Linked DNA regions of Homo sapiens: region 2 is linked to region 1. Evidence: promoter capture Hi-C in human tissues and cell types (Jung and others, 2019). All regions are on one chromosome and are shown on one strand. The core of a region is centred on a gene start or on the middle of the fragment in contact, and the rest is flanking DNA. Distances in the headings are between cores, read along the strand shown.

Region 1 (5,607 bases), core at 1,794-4,293:
CATCCTTGTTGAAATCTCCAGCTGTCCTAGAGTGGCCTGTGAGCCCCTGCAGTGGGCTGTGAGCCCCACAGGATAAGGCTCTGTAGCCCCCAGGCCTGGGGAGATAACAGGCCTGGAGCTGTACCTATGAGTGTTTGCTGAGTGACAAGCAAGGTGGTGGCCCTGCTCCATGTGGATGTGCCCAGACCCTGGAGCTCTAAAGTATCACATTAGGGAACAGAGACAAATTATAAGGTCCCAGAAGACCCGAGCCACCATGGGAAACGTTGGTGCATGGCTCAGCCAGAGTTCAGAGCACCCCCTGCAGGCTGCGGGTGTCTCTCAGTGACCACAGTGTCCTGAGGCCCAGTGACTTCCTGGGTGGAAACTGAGGCCTGGAGTGTTCCTCCCAGGGCAGTGAGAAAGAGAGAAATAGAAAATCCTTTGCAATGTGGTTTGTGTTACCGCAGCTTCAGCCATGGAAGGGGCTCCTTGAATTAAACAGGAAGCAGAAAATATCAGATTTAGATCCCACATTCCATGCATTGTATACAATTACGCGCTGGAGCCATAGAGGGGCACGTGGGACCCACAGAGGCAGAAAATGGGATTGCTGTTGGGAATGGGGTCGTTCTTTCATGGGAAACCAGTTGCATTCTTGACAGGTGGGCCGAGTCTTCCTGAGGTGCACACTTCACAACCCCAGGGGCACAGGTGAGGCCCTCTCATTTGCTTACAAGGCATTGGTGACAGACATGCTACCAGCTCCCACAATGATGGAGAGTCCCCTTCTCTGCAGCCCCCCAACACCGCTGCATATCTCTGGATTGTAGACCATCCTTGGTGGGCTCACCCCAACTCTCAGGCTCAACAGCCTCCTTTTTACCCATGACTCCTATGTCAGTCTCCAGCCCAGGTCGGCTTCCTGAGGCCCAGGGCCATAAACCCAATCGCATCAATAGGTCCAGCCCTTCAAACACTGCCTGTCTGAAACAGAACCCATCATCCTACCAAAAATATGCTCCTTCTCCAGGTGCCCTGCCACAGAGAATGATACCAATGTCCAGCCACTCACAAGAGCCAAACCATAGTGGTATCTTATCTCTTCCCGCCCACACCCATTGGATTCCCAAGTCTTGACCAACTCCTTCTCCTAAGGCCCTCTTACCCGTCCCCTCTTCTCCACCTGGGTGGCCATCACCCTAGTTCATGGGACCATTGTCTCTTGTCTGGATTGTTCTGCAGTCCAGCTCATCTTCATACCTTCAACATGCTCCAAAACCCTGCCCACGCCCTAGCTGGCCCAGCCACTCCTATGTCCCTGACCCTCTGATGGCGCTGTGTTGGCCTCAGGATCAGGCAAAGCCCTGGCCTTGGTGCACTAGGCTGTCCACACCCTGGCTCCTGCTGGCCTCTTCCCCCTGTTCCCTGGTGTTCCTATCCTGTCGCTAGGGCTTTGCACGTGACATTCCTTCTAATCTATTCTATCCATATTTCTTCAGGTTTTCCCTTGGACTTCAGCTCCTTTAGAAAGCCTTTCCAGACCCCCACCCACTCCCCATGTAGGAGGGCAAAGAAGTCCACTGAAGGCATCTAAAGTGTCTTATTCACTGTGTTTCTGTCTGTTGGATAAATGTGAGTGCAATGGTGACTGCTCGACTGCCTGGCACTACACTCAGACTCCTGGAATGCTGAAGCCTATACTGCTTTCTGTCCAGACCCTGAACTCCCTTTCTCTAAAGTAGGGCATGCCAATTTAAACAAAACACGGAGGACCATTTGCAGCCATGAACACGGCCCTGCAGACGGACAGGCCGATGAGCAGCAGAGCAGACAGGGGTTCCCGCCATCATCCCAGCTCTTCACTGCAGCCTTCAAGGGTCTCCCTCAGAACTTTCATTCATTGTCATACTTCATTCATGATTGCTCATCTTGCCTATAAACAAATCTGAGACAAATAATAAGGCATATCAATGTCCGTATTTATTCAAGAGATACATTGGGGAAAGTCATTTTTCAAAATCTTTTACTGTAGGATTTCTTCACTAAAATCTGTAAAAACTGGTAGATATTGTTGGTGATGCTGGTGGCGGTGGTTGATAGGCTCAGGAAACATGGCTGACATCGCCCTGCCGTGAATTCTGGTATAGTTAAGCCCAGCTTCTCTTTCTTTTTGTCACTGGGGCTCTGGGTGGAGGGAGTAACAGAACAGGGGCAGCAGTTTGCACCTTCTGCTGGCCCTGTTTGCAGACTCAGCTTTTCTTTCCCTGGGCTACGTTGGCAGGTGATACGATCTCTCTGTTCCTCACCCCATGGAGAGGTGAATCTAAAATGAGTGGGTCTGTTAGGGTCTGCATGTCTGTACGTTCCCCTTCTGAGGGGAACTGGCTCCTGGACCCCGTTGCCCTGCTCCAGCTGGGGACCCAAGTGCAGCCATCCCAGGCAGGCCCGGCCCCGGGAGGCCTCCACCAGGGCTCTGCCAAGCAGCAGAGGCTGCCTCTCTAAAGATCCCCTGTCGGGAGAGTGCCTGCCATTTATGGAGCGGGCAGGCAGTAGGAACCAGATAGGCGAGCTAGCTGGAGGCAGCAAGCTCAAGGGGACTGGGCTGCTGCGTGGCGTTCACTGTGCAGCTTGAAGAAGACCCCACGAAGCCTGGACAGAGCCCCAGCTTGGTAAATATTTGTTGACCGATCGGTTGAATGAAATGGTCTTGGGGCAGAGGGGGAGTGGTTTTGTAATGGGGACTGGCGGCGGAAACAGCAGAGTCCCGTCTCTCTAACGGCTAAACTTTAGCGCAAAACAGACACACCGATTAAGGTTCACCGTGTGCCAGGGCCAGGCTGGGCTTCTTCTAGGTGGTTGCGGCGGGCGCGGCTCAGCCTGGGTGCTCCGGAAGCTCCGAGCAGCGCAGGCCGACGGCGACCGTGCGGGACCCGCCCAGCCGCGCTTCCGCCCCGCCTCTGGCCACAGGCGCGAACTGCGCGGCCGCTGCCACCAGGGGGCAGGCCAGGGCAGCGGGAGGCAGGGCGGGGACGCGGTGACGCGGGCACTGCCGGGTCCCGTGACTGCGCGCCCCGCCCGGAGTCCCCGCCGCCGTCATGCAGTCCCCGGCGGTGCTCGTCACCTCCAGGTGAGCCAGACCCCCGCGCCCCACACCGCACAGCTCGCAGTCCGGGGCGCCCGGGCGGAGAGGCGGGGGGAGGCCGCCGCCTCCTAGGCCAGGGACCTGGTGCAGGTCTCCCCAGCGCCCTCGGTGGCTTATCCGGGCTGGGCCCCTGCACCGCCCTGCAGGAGAGGTGGCGACCCCGATTTACAGATGAGGAAACCGAGGCCCTCTGGAGGGTAGAGAACTAGCCAAGGACAGCGGGAGCCCTGGGACTGACTGGTTCAGTGCAGGCGGGCGCAGTGGGGACTCTGCTCTCCTTTCCTACCGCCTTGGGTTCTTCTCTTTTGAGCCCGAAAATCTAGTTCCCCATCCTTTCAGAGCTCCCTGAGTCCCAGGCCCGGTGCTGGGCACTGGGGACAGAGGCGAATCAGACAAGCTCGCCCTGCAGGGGGCTGCAGCGGAGAGGGGGTGATGCCAGCAGCGGGTAGTAAGCTCAGGTTGCCATGGGAACACAGTACAGGGCAGGAACCCGGTTTCTGGGAGGATGAGTTTGATGAGAGACCAGGGAGAGGTCGTTGCTGCTTGCGAGGCAGCTCAGGAGAGCGCAAGTTACAGCAAAAGCCTTGGAGGGGTCCAGGCGGAGGATGCAGAATGGGTCGGCCCTGATCGAGACCTGGAGGACCCAGCCCAAGGTGGATCCTGGCAAGGCTGGGAGGCACGTGCTTTTACTTCTTTCCGCCTTTAAAACGCTGTAAAGTGATTTACTTCAAATATTTTCATACACTTCACCCTTGCTCTCCCTACACAAAGTCTTAGGCTAAGATGCCAATTTATGACATAAATGAACGTGTTACCCAGCCAACTGTTGATCTTCCAGTTGTAATCAGGAATTCCCCGTGACTTCAGGTCTAGAAAGGTATGATTCCTTTTGTAAACCCTGATGTCGGAGGCTGCTTGGTCTTTCATGATCAAGTGTGGTTACAGTTGTATCTTCATGGGCAGAAGAGGTTTCCCTACTGCCACTTACGTCACCTCCTCTCACCAAGCCTCAGTTTCCTTTTCTGTGAATTGGAGGTTTCAGATTGGCAGGCATGAGCAACGTCAGTAGTATATGCCCCTCAGCCATGTGCAGATGGATGGGGTGTGACTTTGGTGCTGGGTGCTTGGGATGGGGTGGGTGGCTTCCCTCCCTGCCCCGCTGCACAGCCTGGACGTGGCTTGTTAACAGATGTGGGGGCGCTGGCGGTGGTAAGGCCACATGAGTCAGGCTCATTTCTTGCTGAGGGCACCAGCACACCCAAGGATCTTGCCTGCAGGGTGAGTCCAAACGCCTTAGCCCAGCAGCAAGGCCGGCCCTTCCCAGTCGCACCCCAGCTCCTCTTTCCAGCCCGATCTCCTCCCACATGTCATTGCCACATGCACTCAAGCTTGAATTCAGCCAGAAGGTGTTTATCGAGAGCCTTCTCTGTACCGGGTACTGGCCCTAGTTCTAGGAGACAAACAAGTCCCTCTCGTAGAGCTTTAATGAGGGCACAGGCCCAGTGGGCAAATCTACGACATGTCAGGGATGATACATGCTATGAAGGAAAACAAAACAGTGGGGGCAACAGAGTGGTAGGAGGCATGCATGCTGTTTTCTATGGTGTGGTAAAGAGGCATCTTTCTGATGGAGTGGCGCCTGGACAGATCCCGGACAAGCTCCATGAGGGAGAGAGCCATGAAAAAGAAATCTTGGAAAAGTGTGTACTGGGAGGACAGGACAGCAGGAGCCAGGGTCCCGAGGCTGGTATGCTGGAGTGGAGTGAGCCCAGGGAGAGTGTTAGGTGATGCGGTGAAGAGGCAAGCTTGGGAGTGAAGGATGATCAGGAAAGGCCGAGAAGGCTGTGGAGGGGCCATCAGATTTAATTTCAAGTGCAATAGGGCCCAACTTCTGGTTTATAGAGATCCTTTGGCTGCTATGCTGAGCATGGGCAGTGGCCGAGCTGAGCATTCAGGACAGGCTTGTAGGTTTCCATGTAGAGCCGGTGGTGGCTTGGCCCGGGGTGATGGCGGCCGTGAGGGTGAGAAATGTTTGGGTTCTCGATATATTTTGAAGATTGAGCTTTCAGGTTTGCTGATGCTTGGATATGGGGTGTGAGAACAAGAAGAGAAGTTAAGACTAACGGCAAGTCTCTCAGCCTAAGCTGCTGGAAGAATGAGGCTGCCCTTTAGCAGGCTTGGGGAGAGGTAGAAGCAGCATTTGTGTAGACAGGTGAGTTTTGAGAAGCTCGTTGACAGCCCAGTGGGGATGTCAGGCAGCTGCAGCTGGAAGGAGGCTGGCTGTGAGGGGAGAGTGAGCTAAAGATGGGAGTTGGGGAGCCATTGGCTCGGAAATGGTATTTAAAGCCTGGAGCCTGGATGAGATCACCTGGGGAGGGGTACAGTGAGAGGAAGAAGGAGGGTGCTCTGGATGCTATCAAGGGGAACCATCCAAAGCAGTTCCTCTCCTCCTGTTTGAGCAAGAGTGGCCAGGGTGGGCAGAG
Region 2 (5,818 bases), core at 1,120-3,619, 130 kb after region 1:
CCCACCAAGGCCATCCTCTTCCCATATGACCTGTCTCCTTGCTATCTCTGTGGTAGTTGCAGCCTTGCTATGTTGGCTTGTTCCTCAACGGCATCTTATGCTGGTCTGACGTATCCCAGAGACTGTGGAGTGAACCACATCTTCCAGTGGAGTGAATAGTTGACTTTTGTCCCCAAACAGTGATATCAGGATCAGAACTTGGCCTCGAGTTGTTCCACGGGCAAGAGGGGACATCAGGCTCTGGCCTCCCCTTGGGTAGGAAGCTACTGGTCACAGCATCACTGTTAGGGGGTCACTGACCATTTGCCACGTGGCGGGCATGAGATGCGCTCTTTCCAAGTGCTATCCCACCAAGCCTGCCCCATCCCTGTGGGAGAGGGACAGCATCCCATGTGGGGTTTAACGCAAGGAAACGAGGCTTTCTCTGCATTCAGGGCAGCAGCCTCATCTTGGATTATACGGTGCCACTGGCCCACCGTGAAAGAACTGGTGTCTGCAAAATAACGGCAGGATTAATTCCTCCATCTCTGAATCCTTTCAAAACCCGATCCGCCCTTCCCCTAAAAAAGATCCAACTGACTTTGATCTTGAAAGCCCCTGCCATTCCGATTTCCTGTGCTATCTGCATGGCTTTAACCAGAGGGCATTGTTGCTAGTGCAGTTGCTACTTACAGTGTTGCTGGGCTTGTTCTGAACCCTGGGGAAGAGAGGACATGGGCTTGGGCTTCCATCTTTGGTGGGATAATGGCCTAATACATTCCGAGTCCCGGTGGAGGCTGCTGCTGATCCCTGGGGAGGGGTCTGGTCCTGGCTTCTCCAGGACTGTGCCTGAGGTGCCAAGGCAGAGACAGGCCTTGACTGGGGCCTGGCTGGATCCTGAGGAAGCTCATTAAGGAACAAATTTATTACCTAAAAAGAAAATTGGTGGAAGGGGTAAGAAGTGGAAAGGACAATAATGTTTCCCTTCTAGTGAAACATGGAACAGTCCTGGCAGCAGGAAATGGGAAAAAAGCAAAGCTGAATGAGTGGGCATCATAGCAGGAAGCGGGATGAGGAGGGAGGCAGAAAGGCTTCCTGCCAAGGTGACTTCCAGGTACAAAGCCCTCCAGCCACAGGAGGTGCAGAGCTGTGTCCTCTCCTCCAGGGGGTTCTCAGAGACACAAGGCTTAGGTGGAGGGAGCAGGAGCCCGCCCTATCTGTCAATCAGCAAACTTTCACCAGATGCCCTGTTTGTGGCCAGCACTGCGCTACCCCAGGAGACAGGAATTGTCAACCCCCAGGCCCCACCATCTAATATCCAGGGCCACTTTTCTTTGTCCATTCTCCTCTTCCTCACTTTCCATCCTGGCCAAGTCCAAACTCAGCCCAACTCAATGGCCAACCTGACAATGGTTCAAGAATGGGGACAGCTCCTTCTCCCTGGGCCTGCCCACATCTGAGACCATTCTTGAGCCCCTCTTTACTGAGATGGTATACTTGGCTGCAGCAGTCAACAAAGGGGGTTCAGGCAGGGCTCCCTCTCTGTGGCAGTTGCTTAATTGGCCCATCACACCAGGCTCTTCCATGGGCACAGGCCAGGATAGGGGTTCTCCTGCCATGGGGATCAGTGAGGATAAGGCATCTGTCTTAGTCTGTTTTTACTGCTTTAACAAAACACCTTAGGCTGAGTAATGTGTAAAGAACAGAAATTTATTTCTTATAGTTGTGGAGGCTGGGAAGTCCAAGATCAAGGCACCAACAGAGAGGTGAGGAAGCTCTCTGTTTTCAAGATGGTGCCTAGTTGCTGTGTCCTCACATGGAAGGAAGATGGTGGAAGAGACTCCCTTCAACCTCAAGTCCTTTTACAAGGGTGTTAATGCCATTCATGAAGGCACAGCCCTCATGATTTAATTACCTCCTAGAGGCCACAAACCTTAATACTGTTGCATCAGGGATTAAGTGCCAATATCAATTTTGGAGGAGAGACCATTACTCAAATCATAGCAGCATCGTTTGCCATTGGATACTCATTGTCCCCCTTATGATCTGAGAAACATTTTAGTCTTTGGAGAAAGGGGACCATTGTTAATGGTGCTCCAAGGCAGAAGACCTAAGATTCCTTGTAAAATGTTGATCTCAGAAGTTCATTTCACTCTTAAATCATTTCAAAAACTCCCATTCTTCCCAGGATAGCCTGGTCTTCTCAGTGTAGCTTACAAGCCCCAGCACAATCCACCCTTTGCCACTCCAACAGAACCCTGCCACTCCACGTGCTCCCTGTCCCCGCTGCAAGCTTGAATCAATTGCTGAATTCTGAGTAGGCCATGCTTGTTGGTTCTAATGCACCTTTGCACAAGCTGTTCCCATCCCCACAACACTCACATCCTTGTCTGTCTAAAAAACTTTTTTTCATCTTCAAACACTCAACTCAAACTTTAGCTCTTCAATAATGTAGTAGAGGATGCTCATGGATGGAGGCCTAGAATGGAGTGTCCCTTTGGAGCTTTGTATCTCGACTTCTGTAAAATTATTAGAGGTAATCAGGGAAATAAATAGGCCAGGCACGGTGGCTTACGCCTGTAATCCCAACACTTTGGGAGGCCGAGGTGGGTGGATCGCCTGAGGTCAGCAGTTCGAGACCAGCCTAGCCAACATGGTGAAACCCTGCCTCTACTAAAAATGCAAAAAAAAAAAAATTAGCTGGGCGTCATGGGGCATGCCTGTAGTCCCAGCTACTCCAGAGACTGAGGCAGGAGGACCGCTTGAACCTAGGAGGCGGAGGTTGCAGTGAGCCTAGATTACACCACTGCACTCCAGCCTGGGTGACAGAGTGAGACTTCGTCTCAAAAAAATAAAAATAAAGAAATACATAATAAATGAACCTAAGTGTGTTTAATTGTCCAAGTCCAAGGTAAGTGCTCCAAATGTACACATACTTAAAGTATAAGTGTATTAAACTGTTAAAGGGGTGGCATGCAGAGCACAGATGTTTGAGTCTCTCCATCCAAAAAACAAAAGAACAAAAAGTAACAATTATTAAGGCATTTAAATAAAGTACCCCATAAGCAGGTGCCTAGGCTGTCCACTGATTGACCCCCATATGGGGGTGAGGAGGAGAGACCCAAATGTTTCTGGGGTGCTGGGACCATTCTAAAATCCACTGACCAGGATGCTCTAGGAAAATGAGTGGCGTCCACAGTCCCCTGCTTGATGTTTGGCTTTACTGGGTGGGGTGAGGGCCTAGAAGCTGGTGGGAATGGGGGTGTTAACAGTGAAGGCCTTTCCTGAAGAAGGCAGAGGGTCTCTCTAGCTTCTTTCCCTCCAAACAGCACTCCCCACCCTCCCGCCCTGCCCTGCCCTGGTGTTCCTGCCAGGCCCGCAATGAGAGCTGCTCATTGGCCTCCTTCTCTGGCTCTGCACTGAGCCAAGAAGGATCGGTCAGGCTTGCAGCTGAAGGGGAAACAAAAGCTGTTTTCATGAAAGACGGTATTGATTCTGTTTTTAAAAAGGACGAAACCCCACTTCTGAAATGAGTCACTGTGGGAAGGATTTGAAATGTGACATTTTTCTTTTCATCTCTTCCTTTCCTTCTGAAATTTCAAAGTTGAGCCTGGTAATGGAAGTAGGTAAAGATTTAACCAAGTAAGCCTTTAGGACATTCCTTCCCGCTCCCCCGCCCTTTATTTATTAACTCTCAAGAACCATGTGGCACAAACAAAAGTGCTTGAGGTCTGAGTGCCAAAAGACCTGGATTGAGGTCCCAGGTTCACACGACCTGGAGGCTTTCTTCCTCCATGGGGCACCTGCAGTATCTCTGGGGGTGCCCAGCCCTTCTGGGGTCTCCAGCAAGCACCCTGATTCTGACCCATGCAGGGGACAGGCAGTGAGCAGGATGACAGGCTTGCCTGGCTGAGGAAGCCAGCCCATGGCACCTGCTCATGCCAGGAGGCACATCTAAGATGCCCCGCAGCTCCACAGACCACTTCAGCCAGCTGGGGATGCGGAGGAGAACAGAGTGGCCTCCTCCCCCGAGCTGTGTTTGTGGGGCTGTTTGATGTTTCCCTAAATAGGTATCAGATTGAACATTTTGAAAGATCCCACCTTATGTAAGTGTTACCCTCTAAAATAGAAACTCTACTTCATATTATTTTCAGCTTTCTATGAAATGAGCCTCAGATCCCTCCAAGAGCCCTTTGTCTAAGGAAGAGGGGGCTGGGGGTGGGAAGGCAGAGATCCAGGGAGATTGAGGTTGTTTGCCTGTTTTTAGAATCACAGACTCCCCAGGTTGGAAGGACCCACACAGTCATTTCCGACAGTCCTCTGGCTCCAGGAAGGACCATCCTTGAAACTGAGTAGGAGAAGGGCCTGCTCCCACTCTAATAAGTTAGAGTTAGGTTCCTGTGGCCTACGGGTGTATTGGCCTCTTTGTACACAACCAGCAGGATTCTCGCTGCTATGGGCTGAGGGTGCACAGACTCTGCTCTCACCATCTTCATCTGCACTGGGCTCGAGCTATCTAACCTCACCACTGCCACCTCTTCATCCCTCTGCAGGGATGTGCTGGCACTTCCCTCTGCCCTGCTCCCACACTGTAAACCCACAGTGCCAGGTAGATGGCAGGTGCTTAATCAATACTTGCTGGGCTGAATCAGTCCATGCACTGACTAGCCTGCCCAGTTTCAAAGCCTCTCCGTGGCACTTCCCAGTGTGCCCGCCACCTCTGAACCCCCCGTGCCTGGTTAGCACTTCTAACTGCTTCTAAGCTTTGTCCCACCATCAAGCTTCCAAGAGCTTTGCCATCAGCTGAGCAAAGAAGAAGCTCCAGAGCCGCCTAAAACCCAGTCAATTTCAAACAGGAAAGGCCTCCATCTGGTGCCACTCTTGGAAGACACGTGACTTCTTACCTTTCTTGCCTGGCTCCAGGCAGAGGATACTTGGGGACACCTTCACACACTACCTCTCCCGCCCAACCCTGCTCATGTCCACTCCCAACAGGTGGCTGGGTGTGTGCGCATCTGAGACACTCACCTGCTCTTTTCCTCTCTGACTGTCGGGTGACCCCTTAACCTTGCCATCACAGGGTGTCCAACCCGGGGGGATTCTGGCTGCTGTGCTCTCATGCTGCTGTTAGGATTCACTGCAGGGCATGTGAGTCACATGACCAGGGAGGGGAACAGCAGAAAGGAGTCTGCTATGGTTTGGCTGTGTCCCCACCCAAATCTCATCTTGAATTGTAGCTTCCATAGTCCCTACGTGTTGTGGAAGGCACCCGGTGAGAGAGAGCTGAAAACATGCAGTTTCCCCCGTACTGTTCTCATGGTAGTGAATAAGTCTCTCAAGATCTGATGGTTTTATAAGGAGTTTCCCCTTTCACTTGGCTCTCATTCTCTTCTCTTGTCTGCCGCCATGTAAGACATGCCTTTCGCCTTCTGCCATGATTGTGAGACCTCCCCAGCCACGTACACCTGTGAGTCCATTAAACCTCTTTTTGTTTATAAATTACCCAGTCTTGGGCTTTATCAGTAGTGTGAAAACTGACTAATACAGAGCCCTTACCTCACACTCAGTCAGGGCACGGCCCCAGCGCCTGCCTTCCCTGACTATGCGTCACTGCAGGGAAACATGCATTCCAGAGGGCTCAACAGGAAACCAGAGGGATGAAGTCAGAAGCGGGAGGGGCTTCCAATTTGACTCCCAGTCCTAGCCCCTGCCTGGCTGAGATACCCTGAAAAAAACAGCAGCACTCCCCTGCCTCAGTTTCTCTGTCTGCAACAGGGGAGCACAGAGAATTTTTCAGATGGCTGAAGTGTGGCTGACTCATGCTGTCTTCTGTCCCCAG

The links. The method cuts DNA at HindIII sites, captures the fragments that hold promoters and counts their contacts. A contact is called where the count stands out against the background at its distance.
Region 2: a contact is called between a fragment that was not itself captured here and the fragment with the promoter of HS1BP3 in region 1, in 1 of the 25 tissues and cell types used here (hippocampus).

What each region holds. Positions count from the first base shown.
Region 1 is chr2:20,648,534-20,654,140 of GRCh38, reverse strand. It overlaps HS1BP3 (HCLS1 binding protein 3), which reads left to right and starts at 3,043. Exons shown (of 7, transcript NM_022460.4): 1 at 3,043-3,109. The coding sequence starts at 3,078. LOC105373466 (a long non-coding RNA gene) reads right to left here and starts at 2,859. Exons shown (of 2, transcript XR_001739320.2): 1 at 2,789-2,859; 2 at 1,941-2,166. RefSeq lists enhancers at 2,625-3,362, 3,447-3,596, 3,617-3,696 and a silencer at 2,777-3,366. The HindIII fragment of the contact is 7,709 bases long and covers 1-4,721 here.
Region 2 is chr2:20,514,826-20,520,643 of GRCh38, reverse strand. No RefSeq gene overlaps it. Among named protein-coding and RNA genes, the nearest start is that of RHOB, 71 kb to the right of the region's middle. RefSeq lists silencers at 3,162-3,261, 3,272-3,321, 3,352-3,401. The HindIII fragment of the contact is 6,182 bases long and covers 1-5,460 here.